Regions from separate parts of the Homo sapiens genome. Here regions 1 and 3 are each linked to region 2. Evidence: promoter capture Hi-C in 16 types of primary human blood cells and fetal thymus (Javierre and others, 2016). All regions are on one chromosome and are shown on one strand. The core of a region is centred on a gene start or on the middle of the fragment in contact, and the rest is flanking DNA. Distances in the headings are between cores, read along the strand shown. Region 1 holds the start of DNAJB12 (DnaJ heat shock protein family (Hsp40) member B12). Region 2 holds the start of NUDT13 (nudix hydrolase 13). Region 3 overlaps MICU1 (mitochondrial calcium uptake 1).

Region 1 (4,358 bases), core at 1,423-3,922, 760 kb before region 2:
TTCTATGATCTGGCCCCATTTTATTTCCCAAACTTAATCCTCTCTGTATACGAATTACCACCTCCACTGCCTCTAAATCTTGCTACACTTTGATCTCTTCCCCCAAACGTTACAACTTTCAGCTCCTTTGTCTTCTTCCAGGATGCCTTTCCTCAAGTCTCACACCGTCCTCCAAAGCACAATTCAAATGTTAACTCCTGTCATCCCCAAAGCATTCCCTCACTGTGAGATAACATTATTTTTATGCACTTGCTACAGCACTCACTAAACTGCTGATAATTTAATGTTCAGGAGATTGTCCTCCGCACCTCCTCCCCACCATCAGACTGTGAACCCATGGATGATGGGGCCTGATTTTTTCATGCCTGTCCTTAAGTCCTCAGCGTCTAACCTTGGGTTTATTTTTTGTTTAATTACAGTTCTGTCTTGTAATATTTGTTTCTGTAAGTTTTGTCTCTTTCACTAGATTATAAGCTCTTTTGAGGTGAGGGATCACATTTTACCAATCTTGCTAGCACCAAGCAGAGGACTTTGCAAACAAAACATAAATGATCTTCAACAAAAGTCTGCTGCATTGAATGAGCATCTGGGATGAGCCTAAACCCAAAGCAATAGACCGCCACCTAATATATCTGTATTACTCCCCCTGGGGAGGCAGGTAGCCAGCCCAGTGGGTAGCCCTGCCCTCTATTTTTGAAGTAAGATCTTTCCCTGTCCCAGACCTAAACTAATCCCAGGTCTTTGTCAGCTCAGTGGAGGGCTGCAGATGGTAAAGTTTACACGGATGCATAAGGCGTATAGTCTCATAGTCTTTCCAGAAAAGCACAAATATGACAAATATGCATGCAGGTGGTTCTTCTGTCTCAGCAAATTCCAGAGCCTGAGCCCCAGAGAGGACACTCCTTCAAGCTCCTGAACTGGTGCAGGGGCCTGCTGACAGAAAGATCCCCAGAGGCCCTGTGGCCCATCCTTTCTTGGCTGCCTGCTCCTGAGCCCGCAGCAGCATCAGTGTCAGGCAGAATTCTGACAGCTGGAGGATACCACCCCACCACAGAATATGAATTAATTCACAGGGAGGCTCCTCGAGCAGGTTACCTCAGGTGTCCTGGCAAATACAGCCCGAAACCCTCTCCAAGGGGAGGCAAACAGGCCAAAGATCAACCTGCAAGAGTCCGGAGGGAGGAAAGTTCAGCAGTCCAGGCTACCTCTTCCACCAGCGTTCCGCTTTCTCAATCTCATCAGGCGGGCAGGGCCGGTTAGGAGGCTGACTGCTGTTCCTCAATTTCATTTCTTTTCCTTCATAAACATTTACAGAGTCACAGAACATTTTACTTTCTAGCTGTGTCATCCTGGGCATCCCTTACCTCAGAGATTTTCCTCACCCATAGAATAAAGATAATGATCTTTGCTCTGCATCCCTGACTGGCAGGCTCAAGTGAGAAGGCACAGGTGAAGGAGCTTCCTAAACTGCAAAGCCCTATGGGTATTATTGCCAATCACATTATCTGCGCCAACCCTCTAATCTTCCCGAGGAGGAAACCCAAGCTCAGGAAGGTCACGTGGTAGCCGTCAGGATGAGACTGGGCCCTTCGGAGTGCCTGTTATTCCCAGACGGTTTACTGAGTGGTGATCACAAGCACCACCCGGTGTCTCTCTCCCCTCTAGCGTGGATTAAGAAAAACTCCTTGGAAAACTTAGGTTAAAGAAAAAAGAAAGGGTTCCCGGGTGAAGCGAGGTGATGAGTTGTAAAGCCAGCTTCACTCTTCCCTCCCTGGCTCAGGAGGCTCCTGTCCAGGGCAACTCAGCAGCCTCGGCGTCCACATGGCTGACCGCCGCTGGACTCTTGCGGGCGATGGAGGACTGGCGGTGGCTGAGGTCAGCACCTCCCACCAGGCCACCCGCTCCGAATCTCATCATCGGGAGGAGTGAGGGGCCCGGCTTCAGGACAGTCCGAGGCGGCGGACTGGGGTGGGTGCAAAGGCCGGCTTGCATTTTGGGAGAGTGGTCCCTGACCCTCAGCCCGAGAGGTGAGAGGGAGTGAAGATACGGAAGCGCCTTTCCCTGGCGCCCGAAGAACAGAAATGTCTCCCTGTCTAGCGCCCATTCTCTCCCTTAAAGGAGTTATGTTTATTTTCCTGAACTGTAATATTTCCCAGGCCGGCGACTGGCCTGGGCTACCGAACGGCCCCTTGGGAAAAGTAGTTCGAGTTCACTTCCAGGTAAGTTCCCTTCGTCCCGGCTGCCAGCGCGTTTCATTCTCGGAGACCTCAAACCCCAGCGGGCTCCGCCAGCACCCCGAAAGCTGAAGTCCCGGCCGCCCGAGTCTCCAGACGGCTCGCATCCCGCAGAGGAACAAGAGGGAAAAACTACGCCTCCCAGCAGCCACCGCGCGCCTCAGTGCGCAGGCGTAGCCGCGCCTCGCCACCCCTCCCCCTCCCCCAACTGCTCCCGTCGGTCCGTTCCCGTGTTCCCCCCATCAGTTCTAATGTCCCCAGTCTCTCCGGCACCTCACACTCACCGCGAACTCGCGGCGTCGGATACAGCCGCTGTGCCTTCTCCAGGAAGCGGAGCGCCCGGTCGGGCTGGTTGCTCTGGATGGCCTTGAGGGCGATGCTGATACAGCGCTCAGCTTCATCCTTGTTGGATTCCATGGCGGAACCAGAACGCGGAACCAGGGAGGGGGAGGCCGGGCGAGCGAAGGGCTGCGCCACCCGCCGGCGCGTCGCGGGCAGCCGGGCGCGGAGTGATGACATCCACCCTCCGCCCCTCCTTTCCCGAGTTTTGAGCGAGGGTGGAAGTGCTACCGTATGTCTTCTAAGAAAGGGACGGCTGGTGTAGGTGTCAATAATGGTGCACGCCCAGATTCCATGTTCCGGAGGTCTTAGAGTTGAGTATGCGCCAACCCTCTAATCTTCCGGAGGAGGAAACCCAAGCTCAGGAAGGTCACGTGGTAGCCGTCGGGATGAGACTGGGGCCTTCGGAGTGCCTGTTATTCCCAGACGGTTTACTAAGTGGTGATCTATATACGTAATGTAACTACATACGTTTCAGACAAAGGTTATTTATTCACTGAACAGATATTGAGTGCCCACTGTTTGTGAGGCATGGTTTTATGATGGGGATACAGGGGTGAGCAAAACAAAGCTCCTGCTCTCATGGAGCTTACATTCCAGTGTGTGTAGGCTGGGGGAGCTCCAGATAGATTCAGATAGTGATAAAAGCTCTGAAGAAAAATTATGGAAAACACAGGGATAGAGAGTGGGAGGCGCTATTTTAAATAGCGCGATAAAAGAAACCTCTCAGAAGCTGTCATTAACAGGTACCAGAATTCAGGAACGATAACAGGTAGATGTGACTGTCTGGAGGAAGGGTGGTCAGGCCGAAGGAACAGCAAGTGCAAAGGCTCTGAAAAGGGAATTCTCTTGGTGAGTTATAACAGATCAGGAAGGCGAATACATTCTAGGGAGCGTAAAGATTCTACTACAGGCTGGGCGCGGTGGCTCACGCCTGTAATCCCAGCACTTTGAGAGGCCGAGGCGGGCGGATCACTTGAGGTCAGGAGTTCGAGACCAGCCTGACCAACATGGAGAAACCCCGTCTCTACTAAAAATACAAAATTAGCCGGGCATGGTGGCACATGGCCTGTAATCCCACCTACTCGGGAGGCTGAGGCGGGAGAATCGCTTGAACCTGGGAGGTGGAGGTTGCGGTGAGCCAAGATCACACCATTGCACTCCAGCCTGGGCAACAAGAGTGAAACGCCATCTAAAAAAAAAGAAGAAAAAAAAAAGATTCTACTACAGAGTGTAATCCAGTTCTATCATTATCCCGTTCTTCGAGGGCTATCACTCCAGTGAAAGCAATCTTGTGAAGGTTGCCAGTGACCTCCACGTTGCCGAATCCCCGAGTCATCTGTCAGCCCTTACATTGCTTGGCCTTTCAGGCAGGATTTGGTAAGATGCTACTACAGTAATCCGGATGAGAGTCAGGAAGCTACTATTATAATACAGGTGAAAATTAATGGTAACTTGGATAAGGGTGATGGCGGAGGTGGTGAGTAGTAGTAAAATTCTGGATATATTTTGAAGACAGAATGACGCAATGGATGTGGGCTGTGAGAGAAAGAAGATTCAAGGATGATTCCAATGTTTTTGGCTTGATAACTGGAAGAAGAGAATTTCTATTTACTAAAACAAGGAAATGGAAAAGACTACAAAAGCAGTTTGGTGGGGGAATATTAAGGGTTTGATTCAGTTTATGATGCTTTTTAGAATCAAGCAGAGATACAGACTAGGATGTTGTACATACGTAGGGTTTAGGCAAAAAGGACCTGGAAATATAACTTTGGGGCCAGGCAC
Region 2 (4,407 bases), core at 948-3,447:
GACCTGGCTTAATTTTGTATTTTTAGTAGGGTTTCACCATGTTGGCCAGGCTGGTCTAAAACTCCTGACCTCAAATGATGTGCCCACCTCGGGCTCCCAAAGTGCTGGGATTACAGGCATGAGCCACCATGCCCGGCCTACTCTGATCTCATCTCTGATCACCATGCTCTTTCCTAGCCTTTCCTCAAACGGCACACTCCCACCCCAGGGCCTTTGCATATGCTTATTTTGCTCTGTCTACAAATCTCTTTCCATAGATATAAATTTGGTTTCTTCATCACCTTCTTCAGGGTCTTTGTTTAAATATTATCTTAACAATGAGGCTGACCATCCTATATAAAATAGCAAAATAATCCCTCTACTTATCTTGCTTTATTTTTCTTCTTAAGCTTTATAACCACGACACATTGTATATTTACTCGTTTGTTTCCCCTTCTAGAATGTAAGTTACATGAGGACAGAGATTTTCATGTTTTGTTCCCTGCTGTATCCTATCCCTATAACAGTCCTAGGCACATTGGGTACTCATTAAATACATGTTGAATGAGTGGACTTCTTCTCTTGGCTGGGTGCGGTGGCTCACGCCTGTAATCCCAGCACTTTGGAAGGCTGAGGCGAGTGGATCACTTGAGGTCAGAAGTTTAAGACAGCCTGGTCAACATGGCGAAACCCTGGCTTTACTAAAAATACAAAAATTAGCCAGGCATGGTGGTGTGCACCTGTTATCCCAGCTGCTCGGGAGGCTGAAGCAGGAGAATCACTTGACTCCGGAGGAGGAGGTTTCAGTAAGCCAAGATTGTACGTACCACTGCTCTCCAACCTGAGCGACAGAGCAACTCCATCTCAAAAAAAAAAAAAGTGTCTTCTCTCATAGGCAAGTAACTTCAGTAGTAAAACGAGAAGAGAGCAGCACCAAAGTAGCTCTGCTGAGAGGTGAAGCCAGCTGGACTTCCTGGGTGGAGTGGGGACTTGGTGAACTTTTCTGTCTAGTTAGAGAATTGTAAATGCACCAATCAGCACACTGTAAAAATGCACCAATCAGCACTCTGTGTCCAGCTAAAGGATTGTAAACACACCAATCAGCACTCTGTAAAAATGCACCAATCAGCGCTCTGTGTCTAGGTAAAGGATTGTAAACGCACCAATCAGCACTCTGTTTCCAGCTAAAGGATTGTAAACACACCAATCAGCACTCTGTAAAAATGCACCAATCAGTGCTCTGTGTCTAGCTAAAGGATTGTAAACACACCAATCAGCACTCTGTGTCTAGCTAAAGGATTGTAAATGCACCAATCAGCACTGTGTCTAGCTAAAGGATTGTAAACGCACCAATCAGCACTCTGTAAAAACGCACCAATCAGCACTCTGTGTCTAGCTAAAGGATTGTAAATGCACAAATCAGCACTCTGTCAAATGGACCAATCAGCACTCCATAAAATGGACCAATCAGTGCTCTGTAAAATGGACCATTCAGCAGGATGTGGGCAGGGACAAATAAGGGAATAAAAGCTGGCACCCCCAACAGCAGCGGCAACCTACTCGGGTCCCCTTCCACGCTGTGGAAGCTTTGTTCTCTCGCTCTTCACAATAAATCTTGCTGCTGCTCACTCTTTGGGTTCGTGCCACCTTTAAGAGCTATAACACTCACCGAAAGCTCCACGGCTTCATTCTTGAAGTCAGCAAGACCAAGAACCCACTGGAAGGAACCAACTCCGGACACACTTCTAGGAGACTACTTCCAGTCAAATGGAATGCGCTTCCTCTGATCAAGAAATGAATCCTACCATAAGTTCAAACATATCTATACATACCTATACAGAGTCCCATCCTTTTAAATTGGAAGAACTTCATGAAATTTTAGAGCTAGTTCTAAAGTGTGCAGAGAGAGAACTAGAGATATACTAAGGTTAAAAGGTATTTGATTCCCACCCCTGCTTCATCCTCTCCCCAGCCTCATAATATATGCCTTCTGTGTATGAGGGTGGACTTAATGACTTTATCTTTTTTTAATTAAAAAATGGATCTAATACTAACCTACTTTCTCCAAGGATACAGTAGTTCTCTTGGTAATAAGATCTTAGATGTTCATGCTTTTGACAATCATGGTTAACTTGCAGCTGGAGAACACAGCAGCATGCCTGGGAACTGAACTACAATTCCCAGAGTGCATCTCTAGGAGGATTCTGGGAAGTGTGGCAGAAGCAGCAATGGTCCCTCCAGGGAACGGAAGCCGTTGAACGTGAACATTTGGAGTTTCCTCTTTTGTGCTGATTCCTGAGGACTAGGAAGGTGCCCCGAAAAGAATTCAGAGTGAGTACAGTGAAACAGAAACCTGCTCAGCTTCTAAGTGCAGGAAGGACTTCACAGGGAGGCATGATCAGAACTTGAAAAAAGGTCGTGGTCACAGCATTTTAACATTTTAGCTTAATCTCTTCCTTTTTGCAGAAACCAGGGATATAACCATAGTTTTGCCTCATAACTGTGGAGCTACATCAGTAACCACAGCTCATCATTTTCTGATACTTTTTTGGAGAGTCATTTAAAAATGGAACTTGCCAACCTCTCACATTGTGCCTTAATTTTTATTTTTTTTTAAAGGAGGGAAAATTATTTTTTAGAAAGCAAACTATAAAGCAGGTCAGTGAGACCTTCAAAGCTGTATTCCCGTGGTTCCTCAGTTTTCCATATTTCCCTGTCCCATGGAGGTCCACAGTCGTGGAGAAACGGACTCTAAACACAGGCGAAGTATCACTTGGTCGCCCAGGCTGGAGTGCAGTGACACGATCTCCACTCACTGCAAGCTCCGCCTCCTGGGTTCATGCCATTCTCCTGCCTCATACTCCCTAGTAGCTGGGACTACAGGCGCCCGCCACCACGCCCAGCCACTTTTTTTTGTATTTTTAACAGAGACGGGGTTTCACCGTGTTAGCCAGGATGGTCTCGATCTCCTGACCTCGTGATCCGCCCACCTCGGCCTCCCAAAGTGCTGGGATTACAGACGTGAGCCACCGCGCCCGGCCTAAAAAAAGGTCTCTTAAATACTAGGGAACCTGGCCTCTTCACGGTGGAAGTAACCACTAGATTCAAGATGGGCTTTTTTTGTTTTGTCTTGTTTTGTTTTGTTTTTTTGTTTTGAGACGGAGTCTCGCTCTGTCGCCCAGGCTGGAGTGCAGTGGCGCGATCTCGGCTCACTACAAGATGGGCTTTTTTGTCACGCTGTAGTACTTTATAATCTTTCTTCTGGAAAGATGAACAGGATAAGAAACGTGTGAATCATTTGTGTTGGGGAGTTCAAAGAAACTCTTAATGTTAAAGCACCTTGCCTCATCATTTAGTAGTTGGGTAAGACTGCTATTACCTTTCATCTCTATCAAACATTGTACTTTTAAAAACATAAATAGCTCTGTGACCATCAGCTCATGAGTCAGCAGCCATGATAATCTACAACTGGCTAAGGTTAATTTAGTAGCAGAAACTAGGCAAAACATCAGGCAGCAGTTCCCAAGGTCCAAGAAACTCACCAAATGAATTCCCTTTGGCTCATGGAATATGGTGAGGTGTTTTGGGGAACAGTGGCATGGAGGTAGCCTCATTAACCAGTTAGTCTCAGGAACTACTATTTTATTAGGCTTTTCTTTTGTCTTAAAAGGAATAAGTACACATGGCTAATTTTTTTTTCAGTACAGAAAAATGAACAAAATAAAAATTACAGGCACCTTTTTCAATATTTGTCTTCATCCCACTCCCCCAAATTAGTCACTCTTTAATAGTTTGGTATGTATACTTCTAGTCATTTGAAAAATATAAATAAGGCCGGGGGCAGTGGCTCTTGCCTGTAATCCCAGCACTTTGGGAGACCCAGGCAGGCAGATCACCTGAGAACAGGAGTTCGAGACCAGCCTGACCAACATGGAGAAACCCCATCTCTACTAAAAAAAATACAAAATTAGCTAGGCGTGGTGGCGTATGCCTGTAATCCCAACTACTCGAGAGGCTGAGGCAGGAGAATCGCTTGAACCCGGGAGGTGGAGGTTGCGGTGAGCCGAGATTGCGCCATTGCACTCCAGCCCGGGCAACAAGAGCGAAACTCCGTCTCAAAAAAAAATAGAAAGAAAAATATAATTAAATACATATAATTTATGTATATTGGTATGTCTGTGTCCTTTTTTTTATAAATAATTAGGTCATGTTAACCAACTGTTACCTGTTTTTTTCTCCAGCTTTATTAAGGTATAATATTAAGGTATTAAAGTATAATATATACTTTTTGACAAAAAAAGTATATATTTATAGTTTACAATGTGATGTTTTGATACAGGTATACATTGTGAAATGATTAAATCTAGCAAATTAATATATTCATCACCTCACATTTTTTGTGTGTGTTGAGAATATTTAATATCTACT
Region 3 (4,591 bases), core at 1,795-4,294, 730 kb before region 2:
ACTTTATTTTGTTTGTTCATTTTTTTTTTTTTTTTTGAGATGAGGTCTTGCTCTGTTGCCCAAGCTGGAGTGCAGCGCTAGGATCATACCTCACTACAGTCTCAAACTCCTGGGCTCAAGTGATCCTCACACCTCAGCTTTCCAGTAGCTAGAACTACATGCACACACTACCACACCTTGGCTAAACTTATTTTTTGTAGCGATGGGATCTCGCTATGTTGCCTAAGCTGGTCTTGAACTCCTGGCCTCAAGTGATCTTCCCATCTCAGCCTCCCAAGTTGCTGGGATTACAGTTGTGAGCCACTCTACAGGCTTTCCTTTGGCATTTTGACCTAAGATCTTGCAGTGGTAAAAATAACAACGGCTTTTTGTTAAGTATACTTTTTCTTTCTAGATTAAGAAAATAAATCTCAGAGATGTTAAATAATTTTCCAAAGGTGATTTAAGTAGATAATGACAGAACCTCTTTCTAAAAAGCTAGAAAATCAAACATCATTTTCCAGGACTTCTAGGGAAAAGGGGGGACTTGAGAAGCTAGTTGCATTTATTCCCATATTTACTTCACAGACCAGGTCTTGGATATTGGCTTCAAAAATTATAAAAATAATAAAAATAAATGTTTTTTGGAAAAAATTTAAACCACCTAGAAGTGATTGGAGTGAAAACAAAAATCTGGAGAAAGTTAATATATGTCTACAGCACTGCTGTGCATTAGAACTCTCTGCGATGTGGGAAATGTTTTATATTTGTGCTATTCAATACAGTAGCCACTAGCTAGTTTAAATTTAAATGTAGCTAATAGCCACATGTGCCTTGGTGGTATCATACTGTGGACAGGGCAGCTCTAGAGAATAAACCCACCCCTACCTGAGAGTGAGGCCATCTCTTTAACCTAGCCCTAGGGCTTCCTTTGAGTTCAACCTTGGTTTTGTAGGTATAGGCTGGAGATTTATTTTATTTATTTAATTGTACTTTTTGAGACAGGGTCTCACTCTGTCACCCAGGCTGTAGTGCAGTGGTGTGATCATGGCTCACTGCAGTCTTGACTTCCCCGCTTCAAGCGATCCTCTCACTTCAGCCTCCTGAGTAGCTGGGACTATAGGCACACATGTGCTACCATGCCTGGCTAATTTTTAAAATTTTTTGTAGAGACATGGTCTTACTATATTGCCCAGGCTGGTCTCAAACTCCTGGGCTCAAACCATCTTCCTGCCTTAGCCTCCTAAAGTGCTGGGATTACAGGTATGAGCCACCACGCCAGGCCAAGGCTAGAGATTTAAATAACTCAAGTTCAACTTAATAACATAAATAATTCAAGTTAATGAACACCTATTATGTGAGAAGTACTATCCAAGGTCCTATGGGGGGTAGGAAGGTGAAAAGGACTTGCAACTACCCTTAAAAAGCTCAGGGAACCATGTTAAGGAATAAAAAAGCCCAGAAGTGATTCTTATGCTGGGACCAAAAGGGAAGCTCCATAGGCTGGAGCTTTTGAGCAGGCTCTTGAATTCCATTAGCCCAGCTTTCTGGAGGATGATGAACAACAAATACTGGCTGTGGGGTAAGAGAGGGTGGTAATATAGTAAATAAAACAGAGGGGGCAGTACAGTTTTAGTTCAAATCCTGGTTTTGCCATCTACTATTATCTTTTTTTTTTTTTTTTTTTTTTTTTTGAGATAGAGTCTCGCTCTGTCGCCCAGGCTGGAGTGTTGTGGCACGATCTCTGCTCCCTGCTGCCTCCCGGGTTCAAGTGATTCTCTTGCCTCAGCCTCTCGAGTAGCTGGGATTTCAGGCACGCACCACTGTGCCTGGCTAATTTTTGTATTTTTAATAGAGACGGGGTTTCACCATGTTGGCCAGGCTGGTCTTGAGCTCCTGACCTCAGGTGATCCGCCTGCCTCAGCCTCCCAAATACTATTATCTTTGTGACCTTAGGAAATCTACTTAACCTCTCTGAGTCTCAGCTTTCTCATCAGTAAAAAGTGGTCAATAACAATACCTAGGTCAGAAGATTAAATGAGCAGATTAACTTTCTGGCTCATAGTAAGCATTGAAAAAGTGTAAGCATCCGTTGTTATTGTTGTTATTAGTATATCAGCTACCATACCTAAAAAATAATGCCAAGGTCAAACCAGAACCAGATCTCTTGAATGGGCTAAATGACAGAGCAGAGTGGCCACAGACACAACAGACCACTGTGTGGAGCTGGAATGCTATGGAGATGGAATGCAACTGGCTGGAATGTGCCCTGGGTGGTGGAGAGATCAGTACTGCCTTCTTTCTAAAGACACTCAGATACCTGAGTGCTCCGTATCCGCTAAGTAGCAAGTTGAGTCTGACATTTTTGTTTCCATTTTTAAGATGCTTATGGTCATAAATTAATTTAGGCCTATAGGCATATTGGAATTATAAGAAGAAGAAATGGAAAACAGAAGCCAGGGCCAGGGGTTCGATTTCTCAGTATCATCATGCCAAGGGCTGAGGTGCTAATGTGAGAAAGGTGGGTAGCTTGAAGAGGATGGGCTGGTACACAGATGCTGTCCGCAAGGCTCCATTATACACAAGGGCCTCTAAGGGCAGCTAGGCTGTTTCCCCTCCGGGCTCCAGAGGGCCCCACTCACCATCACAGTCAAAGAGTGCAAACACCACATCACACACGTGGTCTGAGAGCTCCACTTTAGCCACTGTCCTGGCCACCTGCTGCATGGTCACTGAAAAAAGAAAGAGGTGCATTAGCACAGCAGAGGGATTTTCATTTTGCTTTCTCTGATTCAGGGGATAAAACGACTCAGTCATAATACAAGTTTTCAACTGCATTTAAGTCACATTTAAGAAAATGATAAGTTAGGCTGGCCACAGTGGCTCATGCCTGTAATTCCAGCACTTTGGGAGGCCGAGGAGGGTGGATCACCTGAGGCCAGAACTTCAAGACCAGCCTGGCCAAGATGGTGAAACCCTGTCTCTACTAAAAATACAAAAAATTAGCCGGTGCCTGTAATCCCAGCTACTTGGGAGGCTGAGGCAGAGAATTGCTTGAACCCGAGAGGCGGAGGTTGCAGTGAGCTGAGATCACGCCACTGCTCTCCAGCCTGGGAGAGTGAGACTCCGTTTCAAAAAAAAAAAGAAAAAATGATAATTGAGTTTTTATTCATAAGCTCCCTCCTTTTCACCTCAAGTTCTGTTCTTTTCTACTGCTGCTACAGTTTAGGAGGTATATATAGTTAATTAAGAATGCCTAGGCTGGCCAGGCGCGGTGGCTCATACCTGTAATCCCAGCACTTTGGGATTCCGAGGCAACATGGCGAAACCCTGTCTCTACAAAAAATACAAAAAATTAGCCCGGCATGGTGGTGTGCACCAGCTACTTGGGAGGCTGAGGTGAGAGGATAGCTTGAGCCCAGGAGGCAGAGGTTTCAATGAGCTGAGATGGCGCCACTGTACTGGAGTAACACTCTATGTAACAGAGTGAGACACTGTCTCAAAAAATAAAAAGTGCCTGATATTCAATTTATAGACAGAAAGTAGATTAGAGGTTATTGTGGGCTGAGGGGAATGGGGAGTTACTGCTTTATGTATACAGAATTTCTGTCTGGGGTGATGGAAAAATTTTGAAAATAGTGATGATGGTTGTACAACATTGTGAATGTAATTAATGTAATTCCACTGACTTGTATATTTAAAAATGGTTATAATGGCACATTTTATGCCATATATATTTTTATATTTATATATATATTTATAGAAATATATAAATGGGTGGTGGGAACAAGGAGGCTTGTCTGTGGTGTGAGTACACTAAGGCTTCACGCCTTGGTGGGTGAATGACAGCTAAGTGCCTGCACAGTGAGCCCTCCCTGCCCAACTCTGTCCCTCCTCCCTACTGGTTTTGCACCAGACTTCTTCCAACTGAGCCCATTGGTATATGCACTGGCCCTTGTCTTAACAGTTCAGGATGCGTATCTTTCTTTTTTTTTTTGAGACAGAGTCTTACTCTGTCCGCCAGACTGGAGTGCAGTGGCACGATCTCGGCTCACTGCAACCACTGCCTTCCGGGTTCAAACAATTCTCCTGCTTCAGCCTCCCAAGTAGCTGGGACTACTGGTGCCTGCCATCACGCCTGGCTAATTTTTATATTTTTAGTAGAGATGGGGTTTCACCATGTTGGCCAGGGTGGTCTTGAACTCCTGACCTCAGGTGATCTGCCCACCTCGGCCTCTCAAAGTGCTGGGATTACAGGGGTGAGCCACCACACTCAGCGGGCCCGGCCAATAGTTCAGGATGCATATCTTTCTTTTAAAAAATATATATTTTTAGACCTCAGCAAAAAATCACTTTTCTCTTGCCGTTTTCTCTTTCCCAGACATTCACCGTCAAACACTAGCAATTATGTTAGAATTGGGTTCTCATGAAAGACAAGACAGGAAGGACGAGGCAATTTCCACTGCCTTCTCTCTCATTTATCCTCAAACCTGGTCTAGCTACACCTATAAATCATGTTATTGCTTCTGGACACATTCTTAAGTGAGGTAAAATATGAGGGAAAGAAAAGGATTAATTTCCATTTATGCTGGTAATGAAGAGCTCTCTATAA

Evidence for each region. The method cuts DNA at HindIII sites, captures the fragments that hold promoters and counts their contacts. A CHiCAGO score of 5 or more calls a contact.
Region 1: a contact is called between the fragment with the promoter of DNAJB12 here and the fragment with the promoter of NUDT13 in region 2, in 1 of 17 cell types (neutrophils). The highest score is 7.9, in neutrophils.
Region 3: a contact is called between a fragment that was not itself captured here and the fragment with the promoter of NUDT13 in region 2, in 1 of 17 cell types (fetal thymus). The highest score is 5.9, in fetal thymus.

Annotation. Positions count from the first base shown.
Region 1 is chr10:72,352,247-72,356,604 of GRCh38, forward strand. It overlaps DNAJB12 (DnaJ heat shock protein family (Hsp40) member B12), which reads right to left and starts at 2,673. Exons shown (of 9, transcript NM_017626.7): 1 at 2,519-2,673. The coding sequence starts at 2,651. RefSeq lists enhancers at 2,130-2,259, 2,650-2,899. The HindIII fragment of the contact is 22,726 bases long and covers 1-4,358 here.
Region 2 is chr10:73,108,258-73,112,664 of GRCh38, forward strand. NUDT13 (nudix hydrolase 13) reads left to right here and starts at 2,198. Exons shown (of 9, transcript NM_015901.6): 1 at 2,198-2,310. The HindIII fragment of the contact is 10,450 bases long and covers 1,564-4,407 here.
Region 3 is chr10:72,373,162-72,377,752 of GRCh38, forward strand. MICU1 (mitochondrial calcium uptake 1) reads right to left here. Exons shown (of 12, transcript NM_001195518.2): 11 at 2,622-2,711. Among named protein-coding and RNA genes, the nearest start is that of DNAJB12, 21 kb to the left of the region's middle. The HindIII fragment of the contact is 6,523 bases long and covers 1-4,591 here.